Regions from separate parts of the Homo sapiens genome. Here region 2 is linked to region 1. Evidence: promoter capture Hi-C in human tissues and cell types (Jung and others, 2019). All regions are on one chromosome and are shown on one strand. Each heading gives the region's core, a stretch centred on a gene start or on the middle of the fragment in contact. The rest is flanking DNA. Distances are from core to core; before and after follow the strand shown. Region 1 holds the start of TPBGL (trophoblast glycoprotein like). Region 2 overlaps XRRA1 (X-ray radiation resistance associated 1).

Region 1 (5,223 bases), core at 676-3,175:
TCCATGCAGGATGGAGGGCTCTGAGCTCTGGGATGGGACAAAGGGCTCAAAATCCACAAAACCATTCTGATGGGGGTGCTGTGCTTCGAGTCCAGAATGGGATGGAAGGGCCCTCAAGCCCCGGAGGGGACTGAGGGCTCCGAGCTGGCGAGGGAGGTCAGTGCAGTCTCGGGTGTCGGAGCTCCAAGCACAGGGTGCTGGGGGCAAGTCTCAGAGCTTTGGCCTTGAAGGACAGATTCTCTGTGTGAGCTCCGAGACGGGGAACGGACTTTCAGTGGTTCAGGAGGGAGGTTTCGGAAACTAGGGTGGGCAGGCGGGGTTTCTGGATTCGGACCGGCTATCTCTGGGTCTTTGACGGTGGGAGCTCTCGGAGGCGGGAACGAGAGGGTACGGCTTAGCGCCTCCGAGTCAGGGGAAGGTCTCAGAGCTCGGGGCTCGCGGGTGTCTCATCTCCACGGCTTCGGGCCAGGCAAGGGAAGCCCCGAGCCCGGGGGCGCCGCTCAGAGCCCCGAGCCCGGGGAGGTGGCGCGGGAGCCCGCGGGCGCGGCGGGCGCGGGCGCGCGGCGCGGGTCGGCGTCCTGCTCGTAGCGGTAGTGGTAGCCCTCCATCTGGTCCCGGCACGCCTCGCGCAGGTTGCGCATCCAGCGCTGGATGCCGCGGCGGTTTAGGTAGAGCACCATGAGGAAGATGAGGCCGATGAGTGCCAGCACCAGCCCGAAGAACACGTAGGAGGCTTCCAGCTCCGGGCCGGCGGCCTCCGCCTCCTCTCCGCGAGCGTCGGCGCCGCTGTCCGCGCAGCGAAGCCGCGCCCCGTCCAGGTCCAGTAGCGGCCGGTCTAGCAGCGCCCGCGGGGCGGCGCAGCGCAGGCGCCGCGAGTCGGGCACGCGCTCCGTGGCGTTGCGCAGCCAGGCCAGCAGGGGGCGTGCGGCACAGCCGCAGCGCAGGGGGTTGTCGGCGAGCAGCAGGCGCGGCCCGGGGAGGCCGCCATCGCGCTCCAGCGCGCGCAGCTCGTCGGGGTCCAGGCCGGCCAGCGCGTTGAGGCGCACGTCCAGCTGCTCCAGGCGCGCCAGGCGCAGGGCGGCTGGCGGCAGACGGCTCAGCGCGTTGCCCGCTAGGCCCAGCAGGCGAAGCTCGGCCAGCGGTGCCAGCGCAGCGTCCAGCGCGGCCAGCAGCGCGGGGCCGCCGCGCACCAGCGCGTGGTTGAGCTGCAGCGAGCGCAGCGCGGGCAGCCCGCGGAAGGCGCCGCCGCCCAGGGCGCGCAGCGGGTTGTGGCTGAGGTCGAGCGCCGCCAGGCTGGGCAGCCCGTCGAAGGCGCCGTCCTCCACCACCTCGATGTGGTTGTGCGTGAGGCGCAGCGCGCTCAGGAGCGGCAGGCGCACGCCCGCCGCCTGGTCGCCGTCCCCGTCCCCGCCGGCGAAGGCGGCCGCGCGCAGCACCGTCAGGTTGGCGCCTACGATGGTGAGGTTGCGCGCGTCGGGCGGCACGTCCCGCGGAGGCTGGCGGAGCTCGGCTCCCGACGCGCAGCGCAGCAGCAGCTTGGGGCCGCCGAAGCAGTAGCACTGGAAGGGGCAGGGTGCCGCGGGCTGGCTCAGCGCCGCCGCCACGAGCAGCAGCCCCTGGAGCCCCGGCTGTCCCGCGCGCGGGGCCATCGCGGCCGCCCCCGCATCCAGCGCCCGGGCCGCCGCGCTCACCAGTGAGTTGGGAGCGCCTGGTGGGGGGCACGGGTGGGGCGAGTCCTTGACCCGGAGCGGCTGGCAGTCCCGGTCGGTCCGTTCGCTGTCTCGAAAGTCTGAGGAGCCGCACTTACTGGCTGACTGGCCGGGGGCAAGAGGGGTCAGACGGGGAGCGGAGCCCCCCGCCCCCGGTGCCCTCGCCCTGCGCGCCGGCCTCCGGCTTCCGCGGCCGCTCCGGGCTCCGAGCCGAGTGGGCAGGGTTTGCCTCCCCCCTCCCCGCCTCCCGGTCTCGTCCTCCGCCCCCAGCGGAGTCTCCGCGCCCTCCTCGCCGTGGGAGGCGGGGTGGGAGGCTCCCGAGAATCAGGGCTGTCGGCTGCTGCGCTTTCTCTTCATCCTCTCCGCCCCCGCCCCTCCGGGCTGCCGAGAAGTTTGGCTCCTGGAGGCTCCGACTTGGTTTTCCTCCTCCTCCACCCCCAACATTTAAGCTGGGTCCTTCCTCCTCCTTCTCCAGCACGTGTGGGGCGGGGCCCGACTGCGGAGAGCAGGCAGGTGGGTCACCACCAGGGAGAATTCGGGGGTTGGGGAGGACTTTAGAGCTGCTCCTACTACCGGAGGAAGGGATGAGGGGTGGGCTGAGAAAGTTACTCATTTTCCGGCCTCTTCCTAAGGCAGAGAGACTGGAAAATCCCCAGTCTCTGCTTCCTCCTCTGCGACCCTAGTTCCATTAGACCTGGCTGTGTCACCACCCCTGCAGGTCCTATGGGACCAGCTTTTTCTCCATCCCATCCCATCCCATTCTCAGGAGAAGTCTGTGGCACCCGCTCCCCTCCCACCCACCAACTCTGGCTGCTCTGCCTCTGCCAGGAGTTCCCCCGTGTGGTTTCCTCCACCGGGCTGGGCTTCTCTGCCAAGCACTGTCCTAGGCACAGAGACCCGGGGGTGTAGTGATTCTGCTCTTTGCTTTCACTCCCTGCCCCCAAACCTCTTAAGACTCCTGGGGTTCCGTTGGACACTGTCAACTAGTCCCTCCAGGCTTCTCCGCCTGTGAGTGGGGTTTGGGGCACCAGAGGTTGGGAGAGCAGGAGCAGATTTTGCAGCATGGAGTTGGGGGTCTCAGAAGGGGCCAGGGCTGAGGGTGGGGGGGCTGAGCTGTTTACAGATTTGTTTTGTTCTGGATTTTTTTTCCCCCAGAACTGGGAAGCTCTAAACCTGATTTAAAGAGACAGGCTCCTGAGAAGGGAGGATTCCTGGCCTTAGCATGAATTATTCAGGCTGGAGAGGCTGACACTTGATCCGCAGGCCATTCGGGTATCAGCAGAGCTGGTTGGAATAGAGGCTCCCCACCTCCTCCCAAGAATCAGTCTCTTTCTCCTGAATTGGGTACGGTTGTTATGTTGACTCCTTCCCTGAGGTTATATTTAACAGATCGACCAAAGGATCAATACCACTTAAGGAGAAGAGGCAGACCCTGCAGTGGCCTGGGTCTTGGGCAAGGACCAACATTAAGGAACAGAGCTGGTGATGATGGGGGTCTCCCAGCTCTCCCCTCCTCCAAGCCCCTCTCTCTTCCCTACCCCCTGTCTTAACTCTCCCAGGTATGAGAGCTCAGATGTGTCTCATGCAAGTCCATGCAGACTCATTCATATGTGGACATAGGATCGTAGGTTTGAGTGCGTCCTGGCATGTGTCCATAAATTCATAAAGACATACATATTTGAATATGCACACTTCTGAGCCCATGCAGGTTCGTGGATACATTCTCAGAGGGCAAGCTTACAGGCCCATGCTTAAGCCATGCCAAGCATAGGGACCCAGCGATTGGCTAGCACAGTCAGACCCTACTCCTCCTGCCCTGCACCATGCCCTTGGTCTGTGGAGGTAACAGGCTGGTGATGTCTTTTCTCACATGGGCACACGTGCTCAAGTAGATGCCACTGGGGCTGGGCCCCCAGCTATAGCCCTCCCCTAAACCCCGGCCCACACAGCAACATGCCCCAGCTCTGACATCTCCCCTGGTAGGAGGCACTAGGTCGTTTTCACTTTTCTGTTTCCAGTATAGAGACTATCTCAGGAGAGTGTGTGGTGCAAATGACAGACTGAATGAACAGAAGTCTCTGTTTCCTTGTCTGCTTCCAGGCCCTGAGGAATCAGACCACTACCAAGGCTGGAACTCCTTCCCCAGGCCCCGGTGGTGGCTGGCCTCAGATTGGCTGATGCCCCCCTCCCCTGCTGCCCCCCAGGAAAGGAGCTGCAGGACCACAGGCAGCCTTGATTGGGGGGGTGCTCAACACCTCATTTGGGGAAATGAGGCCTGGAGAGAATTTAGAATCATCAGGTGCCAGAGAATAAGGCAAATGTCGTCTGTTTTGCACAAATGGGGAAATAGGCCAGAGGGGCCCCAAGGCCCCTGTCAAGTTTTCAGAGTTTAGCCTAGAAACCTGACCCCAGGGTCCTTGCCCAGGACTCTGTCCAAGATGGTGGGCTGCATCTGAGAGGGTCCTGCACCACAAGGAATGCTTATCCTGACCCCAAGAAGCTGAGGCTGGGAATGGATGCCATGGTTGATCTGGTGTGACCTCAGGCCTTTCTCAATCTTGGGCTGTCACCTTCCTCTTCTATAAGGTAGATAGGCTTTAAATTCCTGTTCTTCCTATTCCTCTCAGGGCTGTTATGATAAAGTGAGTTGAAAGTGCCTCAAAACAAGAAAAAACATTTCACCTGGGTCTGGGGGCCTAGCACCCGTCCTGCCAGACCCTGGGTAAGGCATTGCCCCTCTCTGGGACTAATTAGCTCCCATGTCATTTTTCCCTGTTCCATGTTCTTTCCTTCTCCAACACAGCAGATTTGTGGTGGATGTTAATGAGTCTCTGCTTGTCTCTCTGTATGGCCTCTACTCAGCCTCCTCTCCTCTCTTCCCACTTTGTAAAGGTGCTTCCCGTCTAAATTCTCCTGGAACCAATTTCTCTCTGTCCAAGTTCCCCAAGGAATCAAGTCTGCGAGCCATTGGGGCTGAGGGATCTCTGTTCTTTGGAGGAACAGCGCTCTCCATCTTAGATTTGCCAGTGTTCAGTATGCATTAAGTGTTCAATAAATGTGTGTCCACTTGAGTCTGAGGCTGTGTGTTTATTCTCTGATGCATCTGGTGGAAGTCTCTTTTCTTGGACTGTTTGCCCCAGCTGGGGTGCTCTCCTCTTGATTCTGTTTCTCCAGTCCAGTCAGCTGTCCCTCAGGACTTGTGAGTTTTGCCCCCTTCAGGGAGCCCTCATGGCTTCCCTCTCCATCCTTTGAACTTCACTGATCAATTAGAGGGCTAAGACTCCCCTGATCTTCTTGACTGTCAGCAGCTAGGGCTCAGGTCTGGTCTAATTTCTTAGGGATCAGTACAGAGAAGGCACCAGGGAATATTTGCTGACTGAAATAATGATTTAAAAATCTGTGACTCGAGCCTCTCATCCCTATGAGGCAAGCTCGGTGAGGACCCCTCATCTACACTTCATACCAGGAGATAGCTGCTCAGAAATGTTAAGTGCTTTCCCCAAGGTTGCACACC
Region 2 (5,464 bases), core at 28-2,527, 320 kb after region 1:
GCACCAAGAATCTGTCTCCTCATCTAGACAACAATTTCATTGCCAGAATCAGTCTGATGTAACAATTTTGAAACTGTGGACACAAATAATCTTCACACTCTATTAAAAGTTTACGTCTTCCAGGGGAAGATTTAGATGACAAACTGCAACTAATTTCAGTCAATTACAGCTTTAACCCGGTAGCAGCTACCCATCCCCTAACTCCCAATCTCATGGTTCAAATTTTAAACCTGAAAATTAGAATAAGAAATATATTCATTGGGTAATTCACATGCAGCTTGCAGGAGCCAGGGTGGACAAAAAGATCTCTGTCCTCCAAATTTTAGAGATTTGTGCTGTGATCACTGATTGCTACTTCTCATCATTGAGGTGCACACAGAGGCACACAACCATTGTTGCACACACACCCATCCACAACTGTCATAAGCCCTTTCTGCTCCAGCTGAAGAGACTTCCAGGGAATTTAAAGGATTTCTTTTCTTAATCCTCATTCCTTTCCCCATCTTTTGGGAGCCAGGCATTAAAGTCTAGGACATTCAAAATCAGCTGCATATACAGAGGAAATTAGAATGTCACCACATATATCCAGAGAAATGCACAGGCTTAGAAAAGACCTGAGAAGAACTTACATTTACACATCAGCCTGATCCTTGACACAGAGACAGCCTGCAATAATCAAACACGAAACAAAAAAACCCAGCAAACCCTGGTAAAGGGAAGAATCTGATTTCTAGAGTTACCATATTAATAGATTCAAATATTCAGCTTTCAACAAAAAAATCACAAGGCATACAAAGAAACAGAAAAATATGGCCCATCCAAAGGAAAAAATTAAGCAACAGAAACTATCCCTGAGAAAGTGAGTACTTACTAGATAAAGACTTTAAAACAGCTGTCTTAAAGGTTTTCAAAGAACTAATGAAAGATATGAATAAAGTCAAGAAAATGATATATTAACAAAATGGAAATATCAACAAAGAGATAGACAACCTAAAAAGAAATTTTGAACCTGAAAATTAGAATAAGAAATGAAAAATTCACTGGAGAGTTTCAAAGGCAGATTCGAGCAGTCAGAAGAGAGAATCAGCAAACTTGAAGACAGAACAATTAAATGTATCAAGTCAGAGAAACAAGAGGAAAAAAAAAGATTGACTTGAACAAAGCCTAAGGGACCTGTGGGATTGGGATACCATCAAGCAAACCAACCTATGTATTATGAAAGTCCCAGAAGGAGAAGAGAGAAAGCACGGAGAGATTATTTGAAGAAATAATAGCCTAAAACTTCCCAAGTTTGATGAATGACATGAATATAAACATACATGAGGCTCAGTGAACTCCAAGATAGGATGAACTCAAAGAGACCTCCACTGAGTCATATTATAATCAGACTGTTAAAAGACAGAGGATCTTGAAAGCAGTGAGAGAGAAGCAACTCATCACATACAAGGAATCTTCAATAAGATTATCAGCAGACTTCTTGTCAGAAACTTTTAAGGCCAGAAGGCAGTGGGCTGATATATTAAATATTTAAAGTGCTAAAAGAAAAAAAAACCTGTCAATCAGGAATCCTACATCCAGCAGAAGTGTTCTTCCAAAGTATGGAAGAAATTAAGACATTCCCAGATAAACAAAAGGTAAAAAAAATTCATTACCACCAGTCCCGCCCTGCGTAAATACTGGAGGGAGTTTTGCAGGTTGAAATGAAAGGATGCTAGACAGTAACTCAAAGCTGTAAGAAGGAATAAAGCTCTCATTAAAGGTAAATACATGGGCAATTACAAAAGCTAGTATTATTGTATCAACAGTTTCTATTCCACTTGTAGAACATTGTGGGCAGGGAAGGCAAATCTATATCCAAAAATACATTTATAATCTAGTAAAGGAAACTTGCTGCTGCTTTTTAAAGTCAACTTGATACTAGACAGCTGTATAATCCCTCTAGAAATTCGGTGCCATATTAGGGGTTCAGCAGTGGCCTCTGCCATTGGCAGGTTGAGTACTCAGCAAGGGTCATAACCAGATTTGCTATGGTGAAAGGAAGTGTGTAGCCTTCATCCCTGCCACCAAGGGAAAGAGGGCAACTGACATTCATGGATTGGGTTACCTTATCTTCCTGACCATTGAGAGTCTCCGCCACAGGGGATTGTCTTGGGGAAACAGTCATATGAGACACGGTCTTCACACTCTATCCATTCTGAGAGGTTAAGTCACATAATTTTTCTCTATACTTTAAGCAACTTTCCCATATTTTTTCCAAGCTTTGACTATTCAGCTAAACCATCAGCCACTGCCCGTGAATCAGTATAGATCTGTATTTCTGGCTATCTCTCTGACCAAGCAAATGGCCAATCAGATACATTGCTCTAAGTTCTGCCTGCTTAGAAGATTTCTCTTCCCCTGTGTTTTTGGTCACTCCTGTGTGGGGCTATAATATTGTAATAGTTGACTTTGAGAAGGTATCAGCATATCATGCTAAGTCATTTGTAAACCAAGCTAGAGGTTTTTCTTCCTATATTAGATGGCCACAGGACCTTAGTTAAGGGTTGATGAAGAGGTAGCAGTACAGCAGGAGTATGCGCCATAGGAATCTAAGCCATATATTCCTGCAACTTTTCCAGTCTTGCTGGAGCCTGATTTCAAATATTGCTTTCACTTGATGGGGGATTTCTGTTGCATGTTCAGTTCATGATGAGTGGCTCAGGTTGCATGATCACATAGTATCCTGTGGTCAGGTATTTGGCCTCTACCAACATGCACTAGTAAGCAAGAAATTGTTTTTCAAAAAAAAAAAAAAAAGGTTATCTGCAGAATAGGGCATAACTTTGCTCAAAAATGAATCTGCTATGGGTACCGAGAAAAGGCTCTATTCATAGAATGACCATGTACTTTATCATCCAAACCAGGACATATATGAGAGGGAAAAGGGACAGTAGTAATAATTATTTGGCGATAACAGGTGAAAACTCAGGCTATCATTGAAATCCAGGATGTATGGTACCCTATCTGTACAGCACACCTATTTGCCATAGTCCTTTAGAAGCCATTTGGACCTGCTGAGTCATATGCCCAATGGAAGAGCAACTTGCATTACAGTTGGGACCTGTTGTAGAACCTTGCCTTGCTCTGGACCTCACTCAAAACTAGCAGCCTTGTGGGATACTTAGTAAATGAGTTAGAACAGCACCAAATATTTTATGTCACTTCTAAAATTTAAAAGGGGGATGGGCACGGTGGCTCACGCCTGTAATCCCAACACTTTGGGAGGCCGAGGCAGGTGGATCACTTGAGGTCAGGAGTTCGAGACCAGCTTGGCCAATGTGGCAAAACCCTGTCTCTACTAAAAATACAAAAATTAGTCAGATGTGGTGGCGGGCGCCTGTAATCCCAGCTACTCGGGAGACTGAAGCAGGAGAATCGCTTGAACCTGGGAGGCAGTGGTTTCAGTGAGCCAAGATCACACCACTGCACTCCAACCCCAGGCGACAGAGTGAGACTCCATCTCAAAAAATAAATAAATAAAATAAATAAAAATAAAATCCACAAAGGCCAGTGAAACTTTGTGATTTTTTTCCTACAAGTAGTGTAAGATAAATAAGAAGCAAGGTACAGGATTATGTCTTTCACATTAGAAGTACATCACAACATGCTTCAGATACCTGGATAACAACAAAAAATTAATCCATATCGTAGTACCCTGAATTTTGATGGGGGAGGGGGCTTACCTCCATCCTGTAACACACAGGTATCTTACTAAGGCATCTAGGGTGTTTGCAACTTTTCCTGCTCGCCAGGTCCAGTCAGTATGATATTCTGTAGGATATCAAAATAACCAAGATCCCGGAGTTGATATGGCCCCAAGAGAAGAGGAAAAAGGTGTACTGTTGTCCCTGTCAGGTGAAAGCAGACTGCTTTTGGTAGTTCTTATTAATTGATAAAGAGAGAGAAAGAAACATTTGATAGGTCCTTAGCTGTATCCACAGTGCCAGGGGCTTGGTTGATTTGCTCCAGTAAAAAGATTCCACACCTGGAATAGCAGCTGAAAGTGGGAGTCACCTCTTGATTAAGCTTACAGGAATCTACAATCATTCTTCAAAACCTGTTTTCTGTACAAGCTAAATAAACAAAGGATATCTTCTTCACAATACATAACAATCTTCTAAACAAGAGATGTTAAACAGGGATGTCATAGGAATCATTATCCTTCCATCTTTTTAATCTTTAGTGATGGCAGTAATCTCTGCAATTACCTCAGGGATTCAGTATTGTTTTTGGTTTACTATTGGGAAGAAAAGTTCCTGGGGTTTCAATTGGACACTTCCTACTATAATGGGCTATATACTTTGTTGCTCAGTAAATAAATGTGGGTGTTCTGCCAGTTGTTTAGTATGTCAGTTTCAGTTACACGTTCAGGGTAGATATGTGACTTCACTGGGTCCATTGTGAAACAGACTTTGGCTAAATTTTCATTCTTCCATCTGACCTTTATGATCCCCCACTTTTGAGTGATGGTCCACCATGCCTTTCATATCCCCAGAGATGAGCACCAATTTGCAGACACTGTCTAGTAATCCTTACAAGGCCTAATTTAGCACTGTTCAGTAGAACTTACTACAGTGTTGGAAATGTTCTATATCTGTGTTGTTCATAGTGTAGCTACTAGGCATATTGAGCTCTTGAGCACTTGAAATGTAGCTAGTGTGATACAGGAACTGAATGTTCAATTTTATTTAAGCTTAATTAGTTTTAAGTTAAATGTAAATAGGAACTGAATGAGAGGCCATGGCTCTTTCTTTGGACAACTCAAATCACTTTTTGCCCACCAGATCAAGGGTTTTCTGGTGATCTACATCACTAATAATTTCAAATCATCTTAATTCAATTATAAAAATTGAAATTATTTGAAGCTAGTCTTCAGTCTCTGCAACGTCCATACTATTTCTAGTGTATACGTCCTCCGAGGGTTTGGTTTTCTAATGACCTAACTTAGAGCATGAGTAGTCAGGCTTCTATTCTGTGGCATGCCTTGGATTCCAATTTTCGCCCCTGGCCCAGCAGGGTTGTCAGAATCTCTGCTCAACTTCTCAGCCTCTCAGCCACTTCTGGAGTCAGCAGACAGTCCTAGGGGAAAAGTGTTGCATGAACCCCTTTGGATTTCCTTCTTTTTTCAAATCTTAGCGCCATAATTCTTCACAGCTTGTTAGTTCCCAGGTATCTTAAGGCAGATTGTTTTTAAATGTATATTTTGTCTGGGTTTTCTAGTTTTTTACTCAGGGAAGAGTTGGTCCCACATTATTTAGTTTGCAACACTATAAACCTTTCTATTTATTTTGGTACCTAGAGTCACTCAGGATGGAATCAGCTTAAGCTAAATTCCTGACTGGGTGTTTTCTGAATCACTCTGATGATACAGATTTGGGCTACAGTTTTGCAAGAGGACCAGTCTGCCCTTCCCCTTGTCTTTCTC

The links. The method cuts DNA at HindIII sites, captures the fragments that hold promoters and counts their contacts. A contact is called where the count stands out against the background at its distance.
Region 2: a contact is called between a fragment that was not itself captured here and the fragment with the promoter of TPBGL in region 1, in 3 of the 25 tissues and cell types used here (lymphoblastoid cells, mesenchymal stem cells and small bowel).

The regions. Positions count from the first base shown.
Region 1 is chr11:75,237,476-75,242,698 of GRCh38, reverse strand. It overlaps TPBGL (trophoblast glycoprotein like), which reads right to left and starts at 1,925. Exons shown (of 1, transcript NM_001195528.2): 1 at 1-1,925. The coding sequence starts at 1,649. The coding sequence ends at 501. LOC124902717 (a long non-coding RNA gene) reads left to right here and starts at 2,829. Exons shown (of 2, transcript XR_007062783.1): 1 at 2,829-3,053; 2 at 4,602-5,223. RefSeq lists silencers at 560-639, 770-1,019. The HindIII fragment of the contact is 18,187 bases long and covers 1-5,223 here.
Region 2 is chr11:74,912,041-74,917,504 of GRCh38, reverse strand. The region is part of intron 8 of XRRA1 (X-ray radiation resistance associated 1); the gene reads left to right. Among named protein-coding and RNA genes, the nearest start is that of XRRA1, 34 kb to the left of the region's middle. The HindIII fragment of the contact is 9,065 bases long and covers 1-5,464 here.